Regions from separate parts of the Homo sapiens genome. Here all the other regions are linked to region 1. The links are contacts of gene promoters, found by promoter capture Hi-C in blood cells and fetal thymus (Javierre and others, 2016). All regions are on one chromosome and are shown on one strand. The core of a region is centred on a gene start or on the middle of the fragment in contact, and the rest is flanking DNA. Distances in the headings are between cores, read along the strand shown. Region 1 holds the start of BTBD2 (BTB domain containing 2). Region 2 holds the start of LSM7 (LSM7 homolog, U6 small nuclear RNA and mRNA degradation associated). Region 3 has its middle 4.7 kb from the start of LINGO3. Region 4 overlaps OAZ1 (ornithine decarboxylase antizyme 1).

Region 1 (5,540 bases), core at 1,383-3,882:
GAACCCTCCAGGGGCAGGAACCTCTGCTAAGTACCGCCCAGGGCAGGACCCCACGAAAGGAGACCCAGCTGCCCATAAACACCCAGGAAGAAGCCAGAACACGTTAACAAAAGCACCCGAAGGTCAGAAGGGAGGGCAGGACCCTCCCCCTCCAGTGCCCGCAGCAAGAAAACCCAGCCCCTGCCCCCGACCAATGAGGGGCAGGGTAAGAGGGACCGGGGAGTGGAGGGAACCTGGGGCCTGGGGCCGGTACCCCGCACACTGGCAAAGACAGATACTGGGCCAAACCCACTTCTTTCCCAGAAAGGAGGGCTGGGGGCTGGGGAGGGAGGGACCCCGGAGCTGGGGGTCTCTGGGTTGGAAGGGCCCGGAGATGGGAGTCTGGGCAGGGGTCTAGGGTGGTGGCCTGGTGGCAGGGGATCATAGGATGGGGTGCAGGGGGTAGCAGGGCCCAGGGGAGACAACCTTCTGCAGAGTCCAGGGTCCAGAGCCTGGCAGTGGCGGAGCTGGAGGTGGGTGGTCACTGAAGTGGGAGGTGGCAGGGCCCAGGGGTCTCTGGCTGAGGTGGGGGTCCGGGGCTGGAGGGGCTGTGGATGGTAGTCTATGATCTGGACTGCAGGGCGGGCAGGGGGTATCCCTGGAGGGGAGCAGCATGGTTTGAAGGTCTCTGATCCAGATCATGTGCTGAGCCTGGGGGTCTCCGGTGGGGGTCACTGGGTCTGGAGGCAGCAGGGAGGACGCAGGGAGCAAGGCCTAGGGGTCTTGGCGCACAGGGGTGCGGGTGGGAGTGGCAGGGTCCCTGGATGGTGGGGGAAGAGGGAGGGGTCTTGTGGTCATGGGTGGGGGTGGAGGAAATAGCACGACCCCTGAAGGGAGGGGTCCTGGAGTTCAGGAGTCATAGGTTGGGGGTTACGGACTGAGGTGGTGAGGACTGGGGACGGGGGGTCTCAGGTGAGAGCGGAGAAGTCTCTCCATCCTGGGATGCAGGGGTGACACACTTGAGTGTAGTGGGGTCCCAGGGGGCCCCGGGAGTAGAGAGTGGAAGGGCAGTGGGCAGGGGTGAAGGACCTGGGGAAGGAGGGGTCCTGGAGAGTCCCTGGGTACAGGGACGGAGGGGTCACCAGTAGGGGTCCCAGGGGGAGAGGGGCGGCAGGCAAGGGTGCAGGGCCTGGGGATGGAGGGGTCCTGAGGATCCCCGGGTATAGGGATGGAGGGGTGTGGCATGTGGGGTCATGGGTCCTAGAAACAGTGGGTTGGGGTCCTGGGAATGGAGGAGCAGATAGGGGTACACGTCCCAGGGTTGGAGGGTCACAGGAGTCCCAGGGGTGGTGGGTGGGGGTGCAGGGCCAGGGCATGGAGGGGACCCAGGGATGCAGGCCAGGTGGGGTCCAGGGATGGAGGGGCCTGGGGTGTAGGCAGGGGTTCCAGCCGGAGGTGGAGGGGCCCAGGGATCTGGGGGCAGAGGTGTCTGGGGACCTGGGGTGCAGGGAGGGGTGAGGTCCAGGGATGGAGCGTCCTGGGGATGGAAGAATGGAGGGTCCTAGGGTGCAGGCGGGGGGTGGAGGGCCCTGAGGATGGGGTATTCAGGGTTCTGGGGTGCGGGCTGGGTGGGGTTTGAGGATGGAGGGGCCCAGGGGCTCCAAGTGCAGGCCGAGTTGGAGGGTCCCAGGAACGGAGGGTACCGGAGTGCAGGCTGGGTGGGTCCAGGGACGGAGGAGAGCAGGGGTCCCAGGGGTACAGGGCCTGGGATCCCGGGGAACAGGCTGGGGGCGCAAGCCAGAGGTGGAGGATCCAGGGGGGCCTGGGGATGGAGGGGTGCAGAGGCCCAGAGTGCAGGCCTGGTGGGGTCTGGGGACAGAGAGGTGCAGAGGCAGGGACAGAGGGGTGCAGAGCCCAGGGAACTGGGTGGAGTCTAGGGATGGAAGGGTGCAGGCCCCGGGGTGCAGGCCGGGTCGGTTTCAGGACCGGAGGGGTGCAGGGGTCCCAGGGACAGAGGGGTGCAGGGCCTCAGGTGCAGGCCCCGGGGTGCAGGCCGAGTTGGGTTCGGAGCCTGAGGATGCAGGGGTGCAGGGGTCCCGGGGACAGAGGGGTGCAGGGCTCGGGGATGGAGGGGTGCGGGGGTCTCGGGGACAGAGGGGTGCAGGGCCTCAGGTGCAGGGCCCGGGCAGCAGGCTGGGTGGGTCGGGGCCAGGGCTGGCGGGGTCGGGGCGCCCACCTGTGCGCGGGGATGCGCTGCGAGCTGAGCCCCTTGCCCACCAGGAAGTGCACGTCGCACAGCACCTCGTTGTTGAAGAGGAAGGCGAAGCGCTCCTGCACGGTGGGCTTGCTGGCCTGCCAGTTGTACGCGGCCTCGCGCTGCAGCGCCGCCGCCCCCGGGCCCGCCGCCTCCTCCGCCCGCTCCGCGCCCGCGGCCTGCGCGTCTGTCCCGGGGCCCGGCGGGGCGGGCGGCGTCGGCCCAGGGGCGGCGGCGGCGGCGGCGGCGGCGGCGGCGGCGGCGGCCGCGTTGCCGGGGGCCGGGGTGGCGGCGGCGTTGGCGCTGGGCCCGGGACTGCCCCCCGTGCCCGGGCCGACCCCGACCCCCGGCGGGCACGACGCACGCCCGCCGCTCCCACCCGCCGCCATTTTGTGGCTGCGGCGTGGGCGGGGGAGGGGAGGAGGGAAGGAGGGAGGGGAGGAGGGAAGGAGGGAGGGGAAAGGAGGAGAGTAGGGGGAGGAGGGGGAGGAGGGAGGGGAGGGGAAAAGAGGAGGGAGGGGAAAGGAGGGGAGGAGGGAGGGGAGGGGAAGCGGGAAGGAGGGAGGGGAGGAGAGGGAGGGGAAAGGAGGGGGAAGGAGGGAGGGGAGGAGAGGGAGGGGAAAGGAGGGGGAAGGAGGGAGGGGAGGAGAGGGAGGGGAAAGGAGGGGGAAGGAGGGAGGGGAGGAGAGGGAGGGGAAAGGAGGGGGAAGGAGGGAGGGGAGGAGAGGGAGGGGAAAGGAGGGGAGGTGGGAGGGGAGGAGGGAGGGGAGAAGGGAGGTGAATGGGGGAGGCTGTTGCAGGGGAGGGGACGGGGAGGAGAGGGAAGAGTAGGAGGGGCCTGTAGAGGGGAGGAGCTGGTGGAAGACCTCTTGCTCCACTCCCTAAGCATCCTGACCTGAAGCCCAGACTCCAGACCGAGGTCCAGAATTTGGGGTCCAGGCACCAGGCCCCAGACTCCAGACCGGGAATCCTAAACCCTGGAGCACAGACCTCAGTCCGGGATCCCAGGCCTCAGACCTTGAATCCTAGATCCCAGACTCTGAACCCCAGACTTCAGACTCCGGATTCCAGATCCCATACCTCAGACCCGGAACCCCCAACCCAAAGACCAAGCGCAAACTCCAGACCCCAGACCCCGGACCCAGGTGGCGGGCCTGCTCCGTGGCGCAGGCTCCGCTGTACAGAGACATAGCCTGAGGCCGGGAAGCTGCGGATGAGCGAGCAGGATGCAGGCCACGTGCACTGACACTCAGCAGACGCCCAGCACCCTCTCCAGGCCAGGTGTGGGGGGTGGTCAGTGTGGACGGAGCTGGGACTCCCCCAAAACGCTTACTACATACATAATGTCAAGGTAGACAAATGCCACAAAGATTGAGGAACCAGGTCGGGCGCAGTGGCTCACGCCTGTAATCCCAGCACTTCAGGAGGCCAAGGCGGGGGGTGCATCACCTAAGGTCAAGAGTTGGAGACCAGCCTGGGCAACATGGCAAAACCCTGTCTCTACAAAAAATACAAAAATTAGCCAGGCGCGGTGGCTCACGTCTGTAATCCCAGCACTTTGGGAGGCCGAGGCGGGCGGATCACCAGGTCGGGAGATCGAGACCATCCTGGTGAAACCCCATCATGGTGAAACCCCATCTCTACTAAAAATACGAAAATTAGCCAGGCTTGGTGGCGGGTGCCTGTAATCCCAGCTACTCGGGAGGCTGAGGCAGGAGAATCACTTGAACCTGGGAGGCGGAGGTTGCAGTGAGCCGAGACCGCGCCATTGCACTCCAGCCTGAACAACAAGAACAAAACTCCGTCTCAAACAAACAAACAAACAAACAAAACAAAACAAAAAAAAAACTAGGCGTGGTGGTACGCACCTGTTGTCCCAGCTACTCAGAAGGCTGAGACGGAAGCATCACTTGAGCCTGGAAGGTTGAGCTTTTGATGAGCTATGACTCCACCACTGCCCTCCAGCCTGGGCAACAGAGCAAGATCCTGTCTCGAAAAAAAAAAAAAACAAAGAAGAAAAAGAAAATAGGGTATTAAAAAAACCCAAGTGATAATGCTATTTTCAGTTCTCCAGAGTGGGTGGTTGAGGTAGTTACAATTTTTTTTTCTTTTTTCTTTTTTCTTTTTAGAGTCTCCCTCTATTGCCCAGGCTGGGGTGCAGTGATGGCGATCTTGGCTCACTGCAATCTCAGCCTCCTGGTTCAAGCAATTCTCCCGCCTCAGCCTCCTGAGTAGCTGGGGTTACAGGTACCCGCCACCACGCCTGGCTAAGGCTAATTTTTTTTTGTTTGTTTGTTTTGTTTTTGAGACAGTCTCGTTCTGTCGCCCAGGCTGGAGTGCAGTGGCGCGATCTTGGCTCACTGTAAGCTCCGCCTCCCAGATTCACGCCATTCTCCTGCCTCAGCCTCCCGAGTAGCTGGAACTACAGGCGCCTGCCACCATGCCTGGCTAATTTTATATGTGTGTGTGTGTATGTATATACATATATATATATATATATATATTTTTTTTTTTTTTTTTTTTTTTTTTTGAGACAGTCTTGCTCTGTCGCCCAGGCTGGAGTGCAGTGGCACGATCTCAGCTCACCACAACCTCCGCCTCCCGGATTCAAGCGATTCTCCTGCCTCAGCCTCCTGAGTAGCTGGGATTACATGCACCACCACGCCCGGCTAATTTTGTATTTTTAGTAGAGACGGGGTTTCTCCATGTTGGTCAGGCTGGTCTCGAACTCCCGACCTCAGGTGATCCGCCTGCCTTGGCCTCCCCAAGTGCTGGGATTACAGGCGGGAGCCATCACAGCCGGCCTCTAAATGTCAACTTTCTTATCTCTCATCTCATACATTTGCAAAGTGACATCTTTCCAGCCAAATCCTAAAGAGGACATCTGTGCAGTCCCTTCTAGATGAAGGTGCAGAACAGGCATACCTGCCATGGTGACAGAAATTAACAAAATGGTAGGTTGTCTGAGGAAAGGGTGAACTTTACGGAATGCTGAGATGTTCACGATTTTTTTTTTTTTTTTTTTTTTTTTTTTTTTTGAGATGGAGTCTCGTTCTGCCACCCAGGCCAGAGTGCAGTGGTGCAATCTCGGCTCACTGTAAGCTCTGCCTTCCAGGTTCATGCCATTCTCCTGCCTCAGCCCCCCGAGTAGCTGGGACTACAGGCGCCTGCCACCATGCCCGGCTAATTTTTTTTTTTTTTTTGTATTTTTAGTAGAGTCGGGGTTTCATCGTGTTAGCCAGGATGGTCTCTATCTCCTGACCTCGTGATCCGCCCACCTCGGCCTCCTAAAGTGCTGGGATTACAG
Region 2 (5,540 bases), core at 1,956-4,455, 310 kb after region 1:
GCGTCCCGCAGCCACCCCCTCCCTGCTCTCCTTCTTACCCCTGTCATCTTTCAGGTGCTTCCTCCAGACACCAACCCACAGCCCTTACGGTGCTGCCCTCTGCACGCCCACGCCAATCTCAGGAAGCAGGCACCACCAATCTCGGGAAGCAGGCACCACCAATCTCGGGAAGCAGGCACCCCGGGCATTATTCTGCCTGCCTGTCTCCTCCCAAGGCAGGGCCGAGAGCCCGTCCACGGCTGCTCCACACACACCGAGGGCCGCCCTGTGCGGTGGTGCGGGGGAGGGTCTGCAAACTACGACCCCCAGGTGAACCTGCCCGCCGCTCCTCTCTGTAAGTCAGAGTCTCGCTGGCCCACCACCACACTCGCCCGCTCAGGCGCTGACCAGGGTGGCTCTCCTGCTCTGCTGGCATAGCTCAGTGGTTGTGACAGAGACCATCTGGGCTGCAAAGCTAAAGATATTTGCCGTCTGGCCTTCTACAGAGAAGGTCTGCCCGCCTGCATACAAGCTTCCGTCCACCTCCACAGGCTTCAGCTTCCACCTCCACGGCTCCCTCTCTCTTTGCTCAAGTCCCTCCCCTGCAAAATGAAACTCACCTATAAGATGGGGTCAGATGCAGATGTTCAGGTCCTTGGCACCAGCCTGACCAGTGAGCCCGCCCTCCTCACGGGGAGAGATGTGAGCACTGAGGTAGGTAGGTCTCTAACATGGAGCCAAGGTGCCCCTCCTCTGGAGTGTGGGCTAGGGCCTGTGACTCTGACGGGACAAGATGTCACTCCTGCGCTTAGGTTATGTGGCAAAGACAAGGAACTTTGCAGCTGTAATTAGAGCCCCTGAATCAGCTGACTGAGCCAATCAAGAGAGAAACACCCTGGGTGGGCCTGACTGCATCAGGTGAGCCCTTCAGGGACCAAACCCTTTCTGCTTTTTGTGTGTGTGTGTGTGTGTGTGTGTGTGTGTGTGTGTGTGTGTGTTTGAGATGGAGTCTTGCTCTGTCGCCCAGGCTGGAATGCAGTGGCGCGATCTCAGCTCACTGCAACCTCTGCCTCCAGGGCGATTCTCCTGCCTCAGCCTCCCAAGTAGCTGGGACTACAGGCATGCGCCACCATGCCCAAATAATTTTTGTATTTTTAGTAGAGATGGGGCCTTGCCATGTAGGCCAGGCTGGTCTCAAACTCCTGAACTCAAGTGATCTGCCCGCCTCAGCCTCCCAAAGTGCTGGGATTACAGGCGTGAGCCACAGCGCCCAGTTAATTGTTGTACTTTTAGTAGAGATGGGGTTTCGCCATGTTGGCCAGGCTGGTCTCGAACTCCTGACCTCAGGTGATCCACCTGCCTTAGCCTCCCAGACTGCTGGGATTAAGGCGTGAGCCCCCGCACCCGGCCCCAAACCCTTTCTGAAAGATGATTCTCCCACTGGCCCGAATAACTGAATATGGACAAATGTCAGCTCAGCCTGCAGCACTGTAGGGGCAGACCACCACGGTGGAACAGAGTCCCGAGCTGGCAGCGTCCGGGAGCTGCAAGTGTCCCTAGCCAACACTGGCCAGAACGGGGACCCTGGCCCTGCAAAGGTAAGGCACTGAGCTCTGTCAATAACCAGTGGGCTCAGAAGAAGACCCCAAGATGATGGACCCCAAAAAACAACCCTCAGTTACAACCTCCTGAGAGCCCTTGAGGCTGTGGTACCCTGGCTCCTGACTCACAGATCCTGTGAGATAATAAAATGGTGCTGTTTCAGCTGCTAAATGGGTGATTTGCTATGAAGGGCAGAAAACAAAGGGAAGCAGTGTGACCAGCAAGAGCGGCCGCTCACTCATGTCCTTCCATGTCCGGAGTCAGCATGGTGTAGACTGAGAAAACATTTTATTCATATTCCTTTTTCTTTTTGTTTTGAGACGGAGTCTTGCCCTATCGCCAGGCTGGAGTGCGGTGGCACAATCTCGCCTCTGGGGTTCAAGCAATTCTCCTGCCTCAGCCCCCCGAGTAGCTGGGACTACAAGCGTGCGCCACCATGCCCAGCTAACTTTTTGTATTTTAGTAGAGACAGGGTTTCACCACGTAGGCCAGGATGGTCTTGATCTCCTGACCTCCTGATCTGCCTGCCTCGGCCTCCCAAAGTGTCAAGATTAAAGGCATGAGCCACTGTGCCTGGCCTCCTTTTTCTCTTTTGAGACTGGGCCTTGCTCTGTGGCCCAGGCTGGAGTGCAGTGGTGCGGTCATAGCTCACTGCAGCCTCAAACCCTAGGGTGAAGCCACCCTCCTGCTTCAGACTCCCAAATTGCTGGGATTACACACGTGAGCCGCCCCGTCCGGCTGGGGCACTGTGATTTTTAATAACTCTCATGCCACCCAGTTGTCTACAATCCAGGGACAAAGAGGTTTGGGTCCCCGTCTTACAAAAAAAAGAAACCAAAGATCCAAGAGGCTATTGAATAAGTGACGTGTTGTCTGACTGCTTACTTCCTGCTGAGAGCTGCCTCAATTACATTACATGCCTGTAACCATTCATTCTCACCACCCCCTGTGAAGTGGGTGGAGTTACCAGCCCCATTTGACAAATGAGGAAACGGAGGCTAGGAGAAGGCAGCTCACTTGCCCAGTCAAAAATGCTAGGCTGGGCATGGTGGCTCATGCCTGAAATCCCAGCAATTTAGGGGGCTGAGGCAGGCAGATCGCTTGAGGCCAGGAGTTTGAGACCATCCTGGCCAACATGGCCTCTCTACTAAAAATACAAATATTAGCCGGGCGTGGTGGTACACATTAATTCCAGCTACTCGGGAGGCTGAGGCACAAGAATCACTTGAACCTGGGAGGCGGAGGTTGCAGTGAGCTGAGATCGCACCACTGCACTCCAGCCCGGGTGACAGAGCGAGACTGCGTCTCAAAAAAAATAATGAAAATAAATAAAAGAGGTGCTTCCGCATGCGTCCTCATCATCTCTGTTGCTGGGTTTATTTGAAATTTTTAAAGAGGGGGTACCGACAGCGGGAGCCTCCTCACCTTCGCGGCCTCCCTGGAACTTTACCCGGATCGTCTTGTCGATGTACTTGGACAAGTCCAAGATGCTCTCCTTTTTCTTCTTCTCCTTATCCTGCGGGGAAAGCAGAGCGCATGAGACCTGGAGCGCGGCCCGAGCTCCACGCCCCCCGGCTCCAGATTCCGCCGCGCGCTCACCGCCATCTTGTCGCGCCGTGTGGCTCTTCGCAGGCACCGCCCCGCGCCCTTTGACCTCCCCCACGCGCATGCGCGGCGCATGCGTGGCCCGGGGTCTCGGGGCGTTGCTGGGAAACATCTGCCGTTGGTTGCGGCGGGCACCGGCCGACATGGCGGCAGCGGTGGCGGCTGCGCTGGCGCGGCTTTTGGCGGCCTTTCTGCTCCTCGCGGCCCAGGTGAGCGCGGCACCGGTCCCGACGGCACCGCGGGCTGCGGCCCTTCGGCCTCTCTGTCCCCGGGCTACGCGCAGGAACGACCCCGCTCGGCCCGTCTTGGGGGTCCAGCCTCGGGGATCCGCCGTCCCCGCGTTGTCGGCCGGCGGTGCCGGGGCTCGGCCGTGACCTTGCGGGTCTGTCCCCGGCTCCTCTCCTTTCCCCGCCTCGGAGGCCCTCCGCCGCTGCAGCGCCACTCACTTCCCACCGGGTCTGAAATTTGTGCCCCCTCCATCCTCCGGTTCTGCTTCTCCGTTTCGGGGTCTCCAGTTGCCGCCGGGGACGCCTCTCTCCGGCTCTGTGGCCTTGAGCAGGCGGCTGCCCACCCCTCTCCGAGCCTCAGTTTCCCCTTAGGCGGAACGGGCACGGTGCTAAGCTAACCTCACCCTAGGGGGTGCGGTGGGGGAACCCAGAGGCGTCCCGCGCGTCCCCCAGTAACTGGCAGCATCCTGGAGCGGCCAGGAGTCCAGCCCTGCACTGGGGTCGGATCCCCGCTCCATCTTTTACTCCGTGACCTTGGACGATGGAATTCGTGTGCAGAAGGAGGACCGACTATGGTGTGGATTCTGGAGGTTCTGTCCAGGGTGACCAGCGCCCAGGGCCAACAGGCCTTCATTATGTTCATTGTGTGTCATTTGATGTAAAGAGTGTCAGGTTCTAGTGGGGACAGTCTACGAGATCGCACTGTCATAACTGCATCTTTTATTTTCTTAATTCCAAATCTTCCCTCTCTCCTGAGTTCGGTGGCTCAGGCAATGGAACCTGGAGCAGCCCCACAAATGCAGCCCTTAACCTTCACTACCCCCTCAGAGTTCTCACTCTTAAGGCGTCGCCGCCACCTGGCTCCTCAGTCTCCACTCCTCCAGCCCCACCGCTATCCCTCTGCTGTGGCTGCCTTTGTCCACCACATCCCCAGTCCATCCTCGACACAGCAGGGGTGACCCTTTCAAAGTATGTCAGACCGTGTCGCATCCAGATGAGTGCGCCGTCCAGTTGTGACCTGGCTGCTGGGGAAGCCTGCAGCTCATTGCAGTCGCTTCACTCTCTAGTCTTTTCTCTTACCCTGAGATGCCCCTGGTCTCTGCAAGGCTGTCGGGCCCCCTCGGAAGCTTTCTGAGAACCCCAGTCCTACCCCCAGCTGCTCTGTCAGCCCCCTTTGGACTCCCCCCATTCTGCAGCCAGGCACCTAGAGCTCCCCAGACATTTGGAAGGAGGGGGAAAGCCAGAGGTGGAAGAAAGATCACAGAACTCTGTGGAGAGAGGGACTCAGTTTGCCTGGGAAGGCTTTTCCGAAGCAGATCTATTTTTTTTTTTTGAGACGGAGTCTCGCTCTGTCGCCCAGGCTGGAGTGCAGTGGCATGATCTAGGCTCACTGCAACCTCTGCCTCCCGGTTCAAGCAATTCTCCCACCTCAGCCTCCCGAATAGCTGGGATTACAGGTGCATGCCACCACTCCTGGCTAAATTTTTTTTTTTTTTTTTTTAGTAGAGACGAGGTTTCACCATGTTGGTCAGGCTGGTCTCGAACTTCAGACCTCAGGTGATCCACCTGCTTCGGCCACCCAAAGTGCTGGGATGACAGGCGTGAGCCACCGTGCCCGGCCCCGAGGCAGGTGTTCTGAATGATGAGTAGGAGTTTGCCGGGTCGGCAGGAGGGGAAGGGTGTTGGAAGCACCAGAAGCAGCATAAGCGGGGGCTGGGAGGTGTGAGAGCTGGCAGGTTATTTGGGGTTGGCAAGGGGTGGGCTGTGGCTGGAGTGTAGGGTGGAATAATGCTGGAAGGAAGGGTTTACACCCTGAAAGATGTCACCACCAAGGAGGCCCGGGGGGTGGGCCGTGGAGGGTTGCTGGAGCAGGGGCACAGAGGAGGGGGCAGTGGTGCGAGTGGCCCCAGGCAGAGAGTGAAGGCAGAGCATTCAGCCTCCTAGTCTGGATGACAGGTTGTCTGGTGGAAGCCAGGCCGTGGAAGGCGCTTGGTGCTGGGGTGCGTGGACTTTAACCTGGGCGGGCTGAGGAGTGTGAGCTTTATCCGGAGGGTGGGGAGTCAAAGGATGTGTCAGAGGGACGTGAGAGAGCAGGTGTTCCTGCCCCTTCCAGAACCCTGGTTGTAA
Region 3 (5,540 bases), core at 782-3,281, 300 kb after region 1:
TGTGACCCCAGTAGGGGAGGTCTCCTTCTCTCTCTGAACGTGTTTCTTTCTCTGTAAAGTGATGCTCCTGATAGCTGGCTCTCAGGGCTCTTGGAGGAAGGTGTTCATTGAGCACCTACTGTATACCAGGCCAAGGGCTGGAGGGAGGAGGAGGAGACGCTTCCAGCCTCAAGGGGGATTTCTTCGGACAGAGGGAGCAGATGCCTGAAATATGAAATCGTCACAAAGCGGCGTGGAAGAGGCAGTAGTGACACCGGGTCCCGGACCGAAGCCAGGGGCCAGGGAGGCTTCCCGGAGGAGGAGACACTTGCTATGAGTCCTGGAGGGTGAGGGATGCCAGCTGGGGTCCAGTCGAGGCCCTGCCTGTGTAACCGTGGGGGATGTCCCTCTAGCCTCGGTCTCCACCTCTGCAAAATGGAGATCGGAACAGTTCCCATCTTCTCCCGGGGCTGCAGAGACTCTGCAGTGGTTCTGCCCGGTTTGTGGCCAGTGCTCCCGAGCCCTTGGGGGTGGAGATTGGGCCAGGCTCCTACTGCAGGGCCTGAGCACGGGCTGCTCCCTCTGCCTAGAACGCCCTTCCCCCAGACCTCTGCCCGCCCCTTTCCCCCTCTTCACTCGCGTCTCCACCCCGACCTTCCATCTCTCCCTGCGTGGCACATGCCTGCTAAGATGTCCAGTAATTTGCTGATGGGTCCAGTGCAAGCTCTACCCTCTCTTCTTTTTTTTTTTTTTTTTTGAGATGGAGTCTCACCCTGTCGGTTGCCCAGGCTGGAGTGCAGTGGCGCGATCTCGGCTCACTGCAAGCCCCACCGCCCGGGTTCACGCCATTCTCCTGACTCAGCCTCCCGAGTAGCTGGGACCACAGGCACCCGCCACCAGGCCCGGCTAATTTTTTTTTGTATTTTTAGTAGAGACAGGGTTTCACCATGTTAGCCAGGATGGTGTCAATCTCCTGACCTCATGATCGGCCCGCCTCAGCCTCCCAAAGTGCTGGGATTACAGGCGTGAGCCACCGAGCCCGGCCCCAGCCTTTTTTAAGACAGGGTTTCGCTCTGTCACCCAGGCTGGAGTGCAGTGGCGCAGTCATAGCTCACTGCAGCCTTGAACCCCCTGGGCTCAAGTGATCCTCCTACCCCAGCCTCCCGAGAAGCTGGGACTGCAAGTGAGTGGCAACACACCTGGCTAATTTTTTTATTTTTTGTAGAGATGGGGTCTCACTAAGTTGCCCAGGCTGGTCTTGAACTCCTGGCCTAATGTGATCTTCTCTTCTTGGCCTCCCCAAGTGCTAGTATTACGGGTGTGAGCCACTGTGCCCAGCCCAGTCTTGTAATATTATGTGTCCATTTACTCCTCCCCAAAATGATGAGGGATTAGTTTTTATTATTATTTTTTAAGAGACAGGGTCTCATTCTGTCACCCAGGCTGGAGTGCAGTGGTGTGATCATGGCTCACTGCAGCCTGGAACTCCTGGGCTGAAGTGGTCCTCCTGCCTCAGCCTCCCAAGTAGCTGGGACTACAGGCATGTGCCACCACACCTGGCTTTTTTAAATTAGCTTTTTTTATATCTTGTGAGACAGAGTTTCACTCTGTTTGCCCAGGCTGGAGTGCAGCGGTGCAAATCTTGGCTCACTGCAACCTCCACCTCCTGGGTTCAAGCAATTCTCCTGCCTCAGCCTCCCGAGTAGCTGAGACTACAGGCGCATGCCACCAGGCTCATTAAATTTTTGTATTTTTAGTAGAGATGGGGTTTCTCCATGTTGGCCAGGCTGGACTAGAACTCCTGACCTCAAGTGATCCGCTCACCTCGGCCCCCCAATGTGCTGGGATTACAGGCATGAGCCACTGAGCCTGGGTCAGATTAACTTTTTTTTTTTTTTTTTTTTTTTGAGACGGAGTCTCACTCTATCGCCCAGGCTGGAGTGCAGTGGCGCGATCTCAGCTCACTGCAAGCTCCGCCTCCCGGGTTCACGCCATTCTCCTGCCTCAGCCTTCCAAGTAGCTGGGACCACAGGCGCCTGCCACCACGCCCAGCTAATTTTTTTGTATTTTTAGTAGAGACGGGGTTTCGCCATGTTAGCCAGGATGGTCTCAATCTCCTGACCTCGTGATCTGCCCGCCTTGGCTTCCCAAAGTGCTGGGATCACCGGCGTGAGCCACGGTGCCCGGCCCCCAGATTAACTTTTAATTAACAGGGTCTTGCTATTTTGCCCAGGCTGGAGTGCAGTGGTGCAATCATAGCTCACTGCAGTCCTGAACTGGCCTCAAGTGATCCTCCCATCTCAGCCTCCCAAAGTGCTGGGATTACATGTGTGAGCCACTGTGCCTGGCCTGGATTCATTATTATTCCCACTTTACAGATGAGAATTTGGGGACTCAGAGAGGTTAGGTCACTAGCCTCAGGTCACACAGCATCTGCCTGCTGAAGCTGGGGCTTGACCTCAGGCATCTGGAGCCCAAGGCTTCCAGGACTCTACACGTTTGCCTCTTAGCAGCCAAGGACTCTTTCCCCAGTTACAGAGGGTGGCCACTTGTCTGGGGCCACACGGGAGGCTCCCAGGCCACCTGCCCCCGCAGCCTCCCTCCCTGGGACATGACTGCCACTCCCGCCCGCATCTGGTCCCGTCCCTCACGCTGGAGAGAGCGAGCGAGAGGAGGAGGGCTTTTAATTTTAGAAATGGTTCCTGCTGCAGAAGAGTTCCTGCTGGTTTTCCCAGGCAGGAGAGCACAGGACAGGAGACCCCTCGGCCCCACCACGGCCGTCCCCAGAAGGATGCCCCCCTCTGCGGGCTGCTGCCTCCCTGCCCCCCAGCCTCTCCCACGGCTTCCCCATCTGGAGCCGCCCTCTCCGCCCAGGTGGTAAGTCTCCATGGCAACGTCCCATCACAGGTGGTCGTAACCTTAGCAACCAGGTGCTCCCACCCCACCGCCTGGGAGGCTCAAAGCCGCGCCTGCATCCCCCTCCCACGCTCTCCCTGCCCCCGCCCCCCGGGCAGCTCTCCAAGAGGAACCGAGGGAGATGCATCCTGCCAGGGATGCTGGGCCCAGAGACTTGAGGGACACCCCAAGATCACCCAGCAGCTGAGCTGCTGGGCCTGGGGTGCTCCACGGGACATCAAACCCACCTCCCTCGTCCTGCAGGATGCAAAAGAAACTGCACTTCTCGACATCGCCTGGGCTCCTACTAGGTGCTGCGTCCATGCCAGGCTCAGGCGCCGTCCCTGCCCTCAGGAGGCTTCCACTCAGGACAAGGGGTGGGGAGACACTGACCGAGGACAGGAAGGGGACAATGGCCGGGCGTAGTGGCTCGTGCCTGGAATCCCAGCACTTTGGGAGGGAGAGGCAGGAGGATCGCTTGAGCTCAGGAGTCTGGGCAACATAGCGAGACCCTCATCTCTTTAAAAAAAAAATTATCTGGACATGGTGTTGCATGCCTGTAGCCCCAGCTACTCAGGAGGCTGAGGTGGGAGGATCGCTTGAGGCTAGGAGGAGGAGATTGCAGTGAGCCAGGATCTCACCACTGCATTCCATTCTGGGCGACTGAGCAAGACCCTGTCTCAAAAAATATATATGCATATTGGCCAAGTGCGCTGGCTCACACCAGTAATCCCAGCACTTTGGGAGGCCAAGGCAGGTGGATCGGTTGACGTCAAGAGTTTGAGACCAGCTTGGCCAACACGATGAAAATACAAAAATTAGCTGTCCCCACAAATAAGTGACCCCCAGAGTAAGTTCTAGGTTTAGAATGAAATTTATCCATCTACTATTAAAAAAAAATTCTCTCAGCCAGGCGCAGTGGCCGAGAAAAAAAAAAAACACAACTCTCCTCTGATTTACATGGAAATTAATCACCCACATCAGATTCTGAAGGAAACTCTTGCTTATATTACTTTTTTTTTTTTTTGAGGCAGAGTCTCACTCTGTCGCCCAGGCTGGAGTGCAGTGGCGCGATCTCGGCTCATTGCAACCCCCGCCTCCTGGGTTCAAGCAATTCTCCTGCCTCAGCCTCCTGAGTAGCTAGGATTACAGGTGTGCACCAACACGCCCAGCTAATTTTTGTATTTTTAGTAGAGACGGGGTTTCACCATGTTGGCCAGGATGGTATCGAACTCCTGACGTCGTGATCTACCCTCCTCAGCCTTCCAAAGTGCTGAGATTACAGGCGTGAGCCACAGCGCCTGGCTTAACCTTTTATTATGGAAAATTTTATACACAAACAAAGGCTTAGAGAATCACGTAATGAACCCCCATAAAGCCATCCCCAAAGTGTGATGCATCTGGTTCCATAAGTCCCTCTCCACCCTCCCCAACAGACTATATCAAAGCAAATCCCAGACACGAAGTAATTTCATCCATAAATATTTGCATTTCTAAAATACAATGACTTAAAAAACACAGCCAACAATTCCATTATCATTTTTTAAGAAAATGGACAGTAATTCCTTAATATGCTCAAATATCCAGGCAGTGTCCAGTTTCCCTGACTGCCTTCTAAAATTTTTTCACACTTTGTTCAGCTCAGAATCCAAATAAGGTCCATTTACTGCAATTGGTTGATATGCCTGTCTCTTTCTCTCTCTCTCTCTCTCTCTCTCTTTTTTTTTTCCAGAGACAGGGTCTCGCTTTGTCACCCAGGCTGGAATGCAGTGGTGCAGTCATAGCTCACTGTAGCCTTCAACTCCCAGGCTCAGGTGACCCCCACCCCCGTCTCAGCCTCCTGAGTAGCCAGGACCACAGGTGCATGCCAGCATGCCCATTAATTTTTTCTTTTTTTGGTAGAAACAGGGTCTTGCCATGTTGCCCCGGCTGGTTTTGAACTCCTGGGTTTAAGTGATCCTCCTGCCTCAGCTTCCCAAAGTGCTGGGATTACAGGCATGAGCTGCTGAACCACTGTGCCTGGCCTTAGTTCTTCCTTTCTGCTGTTTGTCTTATATGTCATTTTCCTGTCTTATTGCACCGTGTGGCACCTCCAGTACAATGTTGAAAAGAACCAGTGGAACTGGACATCTTTCTTTTGTTTCTGGCCTTAGGGGGAGAGCACCCAGTCCTTCGCCATTGAGGATGACAGCTGTAGGGTTTTTATAGACATCTTTTATCTGGTTGAGGATATGCCATTCTATTCCTAGTTGCGTGTTTTTAATCTGCATGAATGCTGAATTTTGTCCAAGTGAGTGCTGAATTTTCTGCATCTACTGAGATGATCATATGGTTTTCCTCTCTTATGCTAATGTGGTTAATCACATTGATTCTTGGGTATTAAACCAACCTTGCATTCCTGGGATAAACCCCACTTGGTGGTCATGATGGAGAATCCCTTTTATAGACAGCTGGATTCAATTTGTTAATATTAAGGATTTGTGCATCGATATTCATGAGGGATATTGGCCTTTGATTTTCAGTAATGTGTTTTGGTTACGCTGGCCTCATAAAACACATTGGGAAGTGTTCCTTCCTCCTCTAGTTTCTGAAAGAGTTTGGGTAGGATTGGTGCTGTTTGTTCCTTAAAAGCTTCAGGATCAATTCTGTTGTTTTCCAGAGAAGGG
Region 4 (5,540 bases), core at 1,372-3,871, 260 kb after region 1:
ACAGGTGAGGGGCAAGGACAGGCAGGGAGTGCTCACCCAGGGGAGCAGGGACCAGGTGAGGGGCAAGGACAGGCGGGGAGTGCTCACCCAGGGGAGCAGGGACCAGGTGCGGGTTGCTGCCCAAGGGGTGCAGGGACAGATGAGGGAGGGCACTGCCTTCAGGCAGCACATATGGGGGCCACCATCGCTTTGTTGGTGGGGACAGGGTCCCCCCTTTTTTTTTTTTTTGAGATGGAGTCTTGCTTTTGTTGCCCAGGCTGGAGTGCAGTGGCATGATCTTGGCTCACTGCAACCTCTGCCTTCCGGGTTCAAGCGATTCTCCTGCCTCAGCCTCCCGAGTAGCTGGGCTTACAGGCGCCCGCCACCGATGCCCAGCTAATTTTTGTGTTTTTAGTAGAGACGAGGTTTCGCTATGTTGGCCAGGCTGGTCTTGAACTCCTGACCTCGTGATCCGCCCACCTCGGCCTCCCAAAGTGCTGGGATTACAGGCGTGAGCTACCGCTCCCGGCCTGGGGTCCCTTTTTAAAAAGTGCACTCCAAATTCGTACCCTGGGATTCTACCCTCCAAGGGATGCCAGGCAGTGTCAGAGCTTTTCTGTCATGGGGCATGCACGTGGGTGGGTGCAGCGGTGCTGCTCAACACTGTGGTGTCAGGACGGCCCCACCCAGAGGACGATCTGGGCCCCAGGGGGACCCTGGAGTAGAGCGGGCCTCAGGGTAGCTGCTAAGGCCCAGGAGGTAGGCAGGTGGGTCGGGCCAGCCGAGACGCTGACACTCGCTGCAGCTTTGCAGTTCTCCTGGAGTTCGCTGAGGAGCAGCTGCGAGCCGACCATGTCTTCATTTGCTTCCACAAGAACCGCGAGGACAGAGGTAGGTGACCCGTATCGCCTGCAGTAGGGTGCGTGGGGGTGCCTGCGCCGCCCCTTCATTCTCAGCCCGCAGGCACGGTCTCCCTGCGGGGGTGGGGGGTGCGGGCGGGGGGTTCTGGTCGGCAGGGGTTCTGACGGCTTCTCCCCCGCAGCCGCCTTGCTCCGAACCTTCAGCTTTTTGGGCTTTGAGATTGTGAGACCGGGGCATCCCCTTGTCCCCAAGAGACCCGACGCTTGCTTCATGGCCTACACGTTCGAGAGAGAGTCTTCGGGAGAGGAGGAGGAGTAGGGCCGCCTCGGGGCTGGGCATCCGGCCCCTGGGGCCACCCCTTGTCAGCCGGGTGGGTAGGAACCGTAGACTCGCTCATCTCGCCTGGGTTTGTCCGCATGTTGTAATCGTGCAAATAAACGCTCACTCCGAATTAGCGGTGTATTTCTTGAAGTTTAATATTGTGTTTGTGATACTGAAGTATTTGCTTTAATTCTAAATAAAAATTTATATTTTACTTTTTTATTGCTGGTTTAAGATGATTCAGATTATCCTTGTACTTTGAGGAGAAGTTTCTTATTTGGAGTCTTTTGGAAACAGTCTTAGTCTTTTAACTTGGAAAGATGAGGTATTAATCCCCTCCATTGCTCTCCAAAAGCCAATAAAGTGATTACACCCGATGCACCTGGCTCTGTGGTGGTGACGCTGGGGACTGGTGGGAGGAGTGCCTGGGACCACAGAGGGCCCTGGGTGGAGGGGTCGCGGGGGATTTGGCACCCAGGCAGCTGCGGGACCCCTCCCACGGAGGAGACCCCCTGGGCTGGGAGGCCGGGCCCTCAGCTTGGCGCCAGCCTTGCCACTGCTCGCTTGAAGCCCCTTCCTGCCTCGCGTCCCCTTCCGCCCCAGCCTGGGCCTGCGCATGGGGATGTCTGTGCTCCCAACTCAACTTTTGAGTTCGCCGTGTTACTGGCCGCCCCTAGGGACCTGCAGCGCCGTTCGGGGCAGCAGCACTTCCGGCGGGGTCGTGGCCTGGAGCGCTTCCGGGTCTGCAACCCCGCCGTCTGCCCGGCCGCAGCGCCACCTGCCGGCCGCATCCGGGAGCGCCACCCGGAAAATCAGGGCCAGGCCTGGCCGGGAAACCGGCTGGAAAGAGGAGGAAAGGAGGAACTCGAAAAGATTGTAGACTTGGCGAGCGGGCCGGGGGGATATTCAGCCGTCTGAGCGGTGGTGGGGTCGGCCGGGAGGACAAACCTGGACACAGATACCCCCAGCTCATTTGGGCAGCGCAAATGCAGAGAAGGGGCATTAGAGCTGAGGCCATGCAGGATGAATAGGAGTATGAAGCAGAGTAGAGGGGGCTGTTTTCTGGTGTAAAAAACAACTTGGGCAAAGGCGTGGAGGCTGGAAAGTAACCTCCAGGGATGAACGACATGGGGTTGGAGACTCTGAGGAGACTTTGGAAGAGCCCTGTATGTATTCTGAGGCACTGGGGAGCCATGGGAGGTGTTTGAGCTGGAGAGGGACCTCATATCTGGGGTTGGAAAGATCCTCCCAGGACTGCCATGGGGAATGGAATGGAGGGGCAACTCTGAGTCTCCAGGAAGGAAGCCACAGGCAAGGGCAGTGCAGTGTGTCAGAGGCATAAAGGAAGACTCCATCCCCCTCCAGTGAGTCTCCTCTGTGCCTGTTTATTACATCATCCTGTGGTATTAAGTGAGCACCTACTGTGTGCCAAGCCTGGCCTTTGCCCCCAGGGAACTCACAGCCTTGTGGACAGTAACAGAGGAATAAATGCTCCTGAGAGTGGGCGGAGAACGCAGGGTAAGGAGCTAGCGATGGCCCAGAGTGGGCACCTTTATTTGTTTAGAGAAAGTGAAACTGTAGCCGGGCGCGGTGGCTCACGCCTGTAATCCCAGCACTTTGGGAGGCCGAGGCGGACGGATCACGAGGTCAGGAGATGGAGACCATCCTGGCTAACACGGAGAAACCCCGTCTCTACTAAAAATACAAAAAATTAGCCGGGCGTGGTGGCGGGCGCCTGTAGTCCCAGCTACTCGGGAGGCTGAGGCAGGAGAATGGCGTGAACCCGGGAGGCGGAGCTTGCAGTAAGCCGAGATCGTCTCAAAAAAAAAAAAAAAAAAAAAAGAAAAAGAAAGTGGAACTGGAACAGTATGGCAGAGGGAACAGCCTACACAAATGCTTGGGGGCGCGAAAGAAGTTGGTGTGTCACGGAGGAACAGGGAGGGAGGCAGGGTGGGCGCAGAGGGATTGAGGGGAGGTGGCAGGGAACCGCGGGGACTGTTTTAGGGAAGGTGAGTCCAGACCCCGCTGAGATGAGCTGGGTGTCTAAGGTCCCAGGGAGCCTTCCCTTCCCGTGACACCACCAAGCAATTCTCCACCAGGGACAGGGGCATTCACATGCCCAAAATCACTGGCCATCTTCAGCACAAGGGGGTGCTCCAGAGCCAGGAATGCCTCTGGTCCCGGCATTGGCCTCTCATGGAGACAATGACAGAACCCACGCGGAAGAGCGCCCTGGCTGCTGGGGAAGGCAGAACACAGAGAGACATTGATCAGCGGGGTTGTCCACACCTGGAAGTGGCGTGGGGGCCCTGGCTTCAGAGAGCTGCTGCCCAACACAGGAGGCGCTGGCCAGCCCCCAGCCCTGGAGGGGCAGCTGCATTCCTGGGAAGCCCTTGACCCACATCCCCAGCACGGGAGGGGAGGCTCTGGAGTGGGGCATTGCTCTCTCTGCTGCGCTCCTGGACTCTGCAGGAAGAGGGTGTCTTGGCTATCATGGAGACGCTGACCTCAGCCCCAGCCCTGCCTCCTGGGCAGGCCTGGACCAGGTGTGTTCGCCCTGGGTTGGGGTCAGTCCCACAGCAGCGCCAGGGCCTGGCCCATCGAGGACTCGGTGGCCTCGGCCAGGTATTCGCAACACAGCCAGTCCTCGAGGCTGGGAGCTTCCCCACCTGCGGCCCGCTCTGCTAGGCGCAGGACCAGCAGCCCGCGGCGCACCCGCAGCCAGGGCCCGAGCGCTCGGAGCCAGGGACCAAGCGGTGCTCCGCGGCCGCGCAGCTCAGGCCCGGGCCCCCAGAGCAGCGCCTGCAGCGCGCCCCGCGTCCGGGACGCCGAGGGCCGCAAGCGGGTCAGCTGTGCTGCCAGGAGCTCCAGGCCCGCGGCCAAAGGCGTGGTCGAGGGCGCAGCAAGGCTGAGCAGCGCTCGGAGGAGGCTGCCCAGCTGCGGCGCGTGGGGGCCCGGGGATCCCGGGGGTCCAGGGGGCTGCAGACAGACGCGGCCAAAGTCAGTGAGGAGCAGGCGTGGGGGCCCCGTCGTCGCACAGCCCCGAGGTGCCACCAGCAGCAAGTTCTCCGGCCGCAACTCGACTAGGGCCGCGCCCCACGCCTCCAGGAACTTCAGGGCCGCGCTCAGCTGCAGCAGCAGCAGGGCCACAGCCCACACGAACTCCTCCGGCGGCTGCGTGCAGGCCTCCGCCAGCCACTGCGCCACCGTGCGCTCTGGAACCTCGGCTGCCAGCGCCACTGCGCCTCTCCAGGGCGCCCCGGGCAGTGTGCCTTCAGGCACCAGGCCACACAGCCCCTGCAGATTGAAGTGTGGAGACAGGGAGGCCTGCAGCTCCAGGCCCCACGGGTGGGGCACGTCCGCCCCGGGCTTGGGCACCTGCAAGGCAGAGGGGGTGTCGGGGCCTGGATCACTGGGCCCCCCACAAGCACCGCCTGCCCCAGTGCTACCTGCCCCGAAGCCTCCCACGCACACCCCCAAACTGCCCCCACTACGGCTAGGGGCTGCCTGCATCCCTCCAGCAGCAGGAGGTCAGTGTTAATTTGGAAGTTAGTCACCAGTAAGGACTTTCAGGAAAGTTAAGCCAGGGAAGAAGATGTTCCTGGGCAATGAGTTCGAAAGCAGATTCCTGGGCCGGGCGCGGTGGCTCACGCCTTCCCAGCACTTTGGGAGGCAGGGGGATCGCTGAGGTCAGGAGTTCGAGACCAGCCTGGCCAACGCAGGGAACGCTCGTCTCTACTAAAAAATGCAAAACTAGCTGGGCGTGGTGGCGCGCCTGTCATCCCAGCTACTTCGGAGGCTGAGGTGAGAGAATCGCTTGAGCCCGGGAGGTGGAGGTTGCAGTGAGCCGAGAACGCGCCACTGCACTCCAGCCTGGGCAACAGAGTGAGACTCTGTCTCAAAAACAAAAAACAAAACAAAAAACACAAAAGCAGATCCCCGGCCAGAGAGGTGTGGGAGGGGTTTTGACAAGAGCTCCAAGGCCATACCCATGGCCCCATACTTTAGAAACATGGTTTCCTGGGTTAACTGCGTTGATTCACGTGTTAGTTGCAAAATAAACAAGTCTAATATGGTCTGGATCTGTGTCCCCACCAAATCTCATTCCCCAGTGTTGGAGGTGGGGTCTGGTGGGAGGCGACTTGGATCTTGGGGGTGGTTTATCATGAATGGCTCAGCACCATCTCCCTTGGCACTGTCGTTGGGATAACGAGTGAGTTCTCGTGAGATCTGGCTGTGTAAAGGTGAGTAGCACCTCCTCCCTCCCTTCCTCCTGCTCCCACCGTGTGAGATGCCTGCTCCCGCCTCGCCTTCCACTATGATTGGAAGCTTCCTGAGGCCTCCCCAGAAGCAGAAGCCACCAGAACCATGAGCCAATT

Evidence for each region. Contacts are between HindIII fragments. The CHiCAGO score rates a contact against its expected background, and 5 or more counts as called.
Region 2: the fragment with the promoter of LSM7 here is called in contact with the fragment with the promoter of BTBD2 in region 1 in 1 of 17 cell types (monocytes); the score reaches 5.1 in monocytes.
Region 3: a contact is called between a fragment that was not itself captured here and the fragment with the promoter of BTBD2 in region 1, in 2 of 17 cell types (M0 macrophages and M1 macrophages). The highest score is 5.4, in M0 macrophages.
Region 4: a fragment that was not itself captured here is called in contact with the fragment with the promoter of BTBD2 in region 1 in 1 of 17 cell types (fetal thymus); the score reaches 6.4 in fetal thymus.

What each region holds. Positions count from the first base shown.
Region 1 is chr19:2,013,082-2,018,621 of GRCh38, forward strand. It overlaps BTBD2 (BTB domain containing 2), which reads right to left and starts at 2,633. Exons shown (of 9, transcript NM_017797.4): 1 at 2,216-2,633. The coding sequence starts at 2,622. It overlaps LOC107985278 (a long non-coding RNA gene), which reads right to left. Exons shown (of 4, transcript XR_001753845.2): 3 at 4,102-4,219; 4 at 3,264-4,013. RefSeq lists silencers at 2,230-2,279, 2,290-2,439. The HindIII fragment of the contact is 21,370 bases long and covers 1-5,540 here.
Region 2 is chr19:2,325,381-2,330,920 of GRCh38, forward strand. LSM7 (LSM7 homolog, U6 small nuclear RNA and mRNA degradation associated) reads right to left here and starts at 3,206. Exons shown (of 4, transcript NM_016199.3): 1 at 3,181-3,206; 2 at 3,007-3,097. The coding sequence starts at 3,186. SPPL2B (signal peptide peptidase like 2B) reads left to right here and starts at 3,304. Exons shown (of 15, transcript NM_152988.3): 1 at 3,304-3,395. The coding sequence starts at 3,330. RefSeq lists silencers at 2,211-2,310, 3,331-3,590 and enhancers at 2,581-2,640, 2,921-3,575, 3,011-3,060, 3,071-3,120. The HindIII fragment of the contact is 4,029 bases long and covers 510-4,538 here.
Region 3 is chr19:2,310,067-2,315,606 of GRCh38, forward strand. No RefSeq gene overlaps it. Among named protein-coding and RNA genes, the nearest start is that of LINGO3, 4.7 kb to the left of the region's middle. The HindIII fragment of the contact is 6,944 bases long and covers 1-5,503 here.
Region 4 is chr19:2,271,951-2,277,490 of GRCh38, forward strand. It overlaps OAZ1 (ornithine decarboxylase antizyme 1), which reads left to right. Exons shown (of 5, transcript NM_004152.3): 3 at 1-4; 4 at 785-870; 5 at 1,022-1,538. The coding sequence ends at 1,158. It overlaps PEAK3 (PEAK family member 3), which reads right to left. Exons shown (of 4, transcript NM_198532.3): 4 at 2,681-4,539. The coding sequence ends at 3,730. Among named protein-coding and RNA genes, the nearest start is that of OAZ1, 5.2 kb to the left of the region's middle. RefSeq lists enhancers at 587-646, 657-716, 2,157-2,296, 3,101-4,035 and silencers at 917-1,066, 1,527-1,776. The HindIII fragment of the contact is 5,733 bases long and covers 1-5,488 here.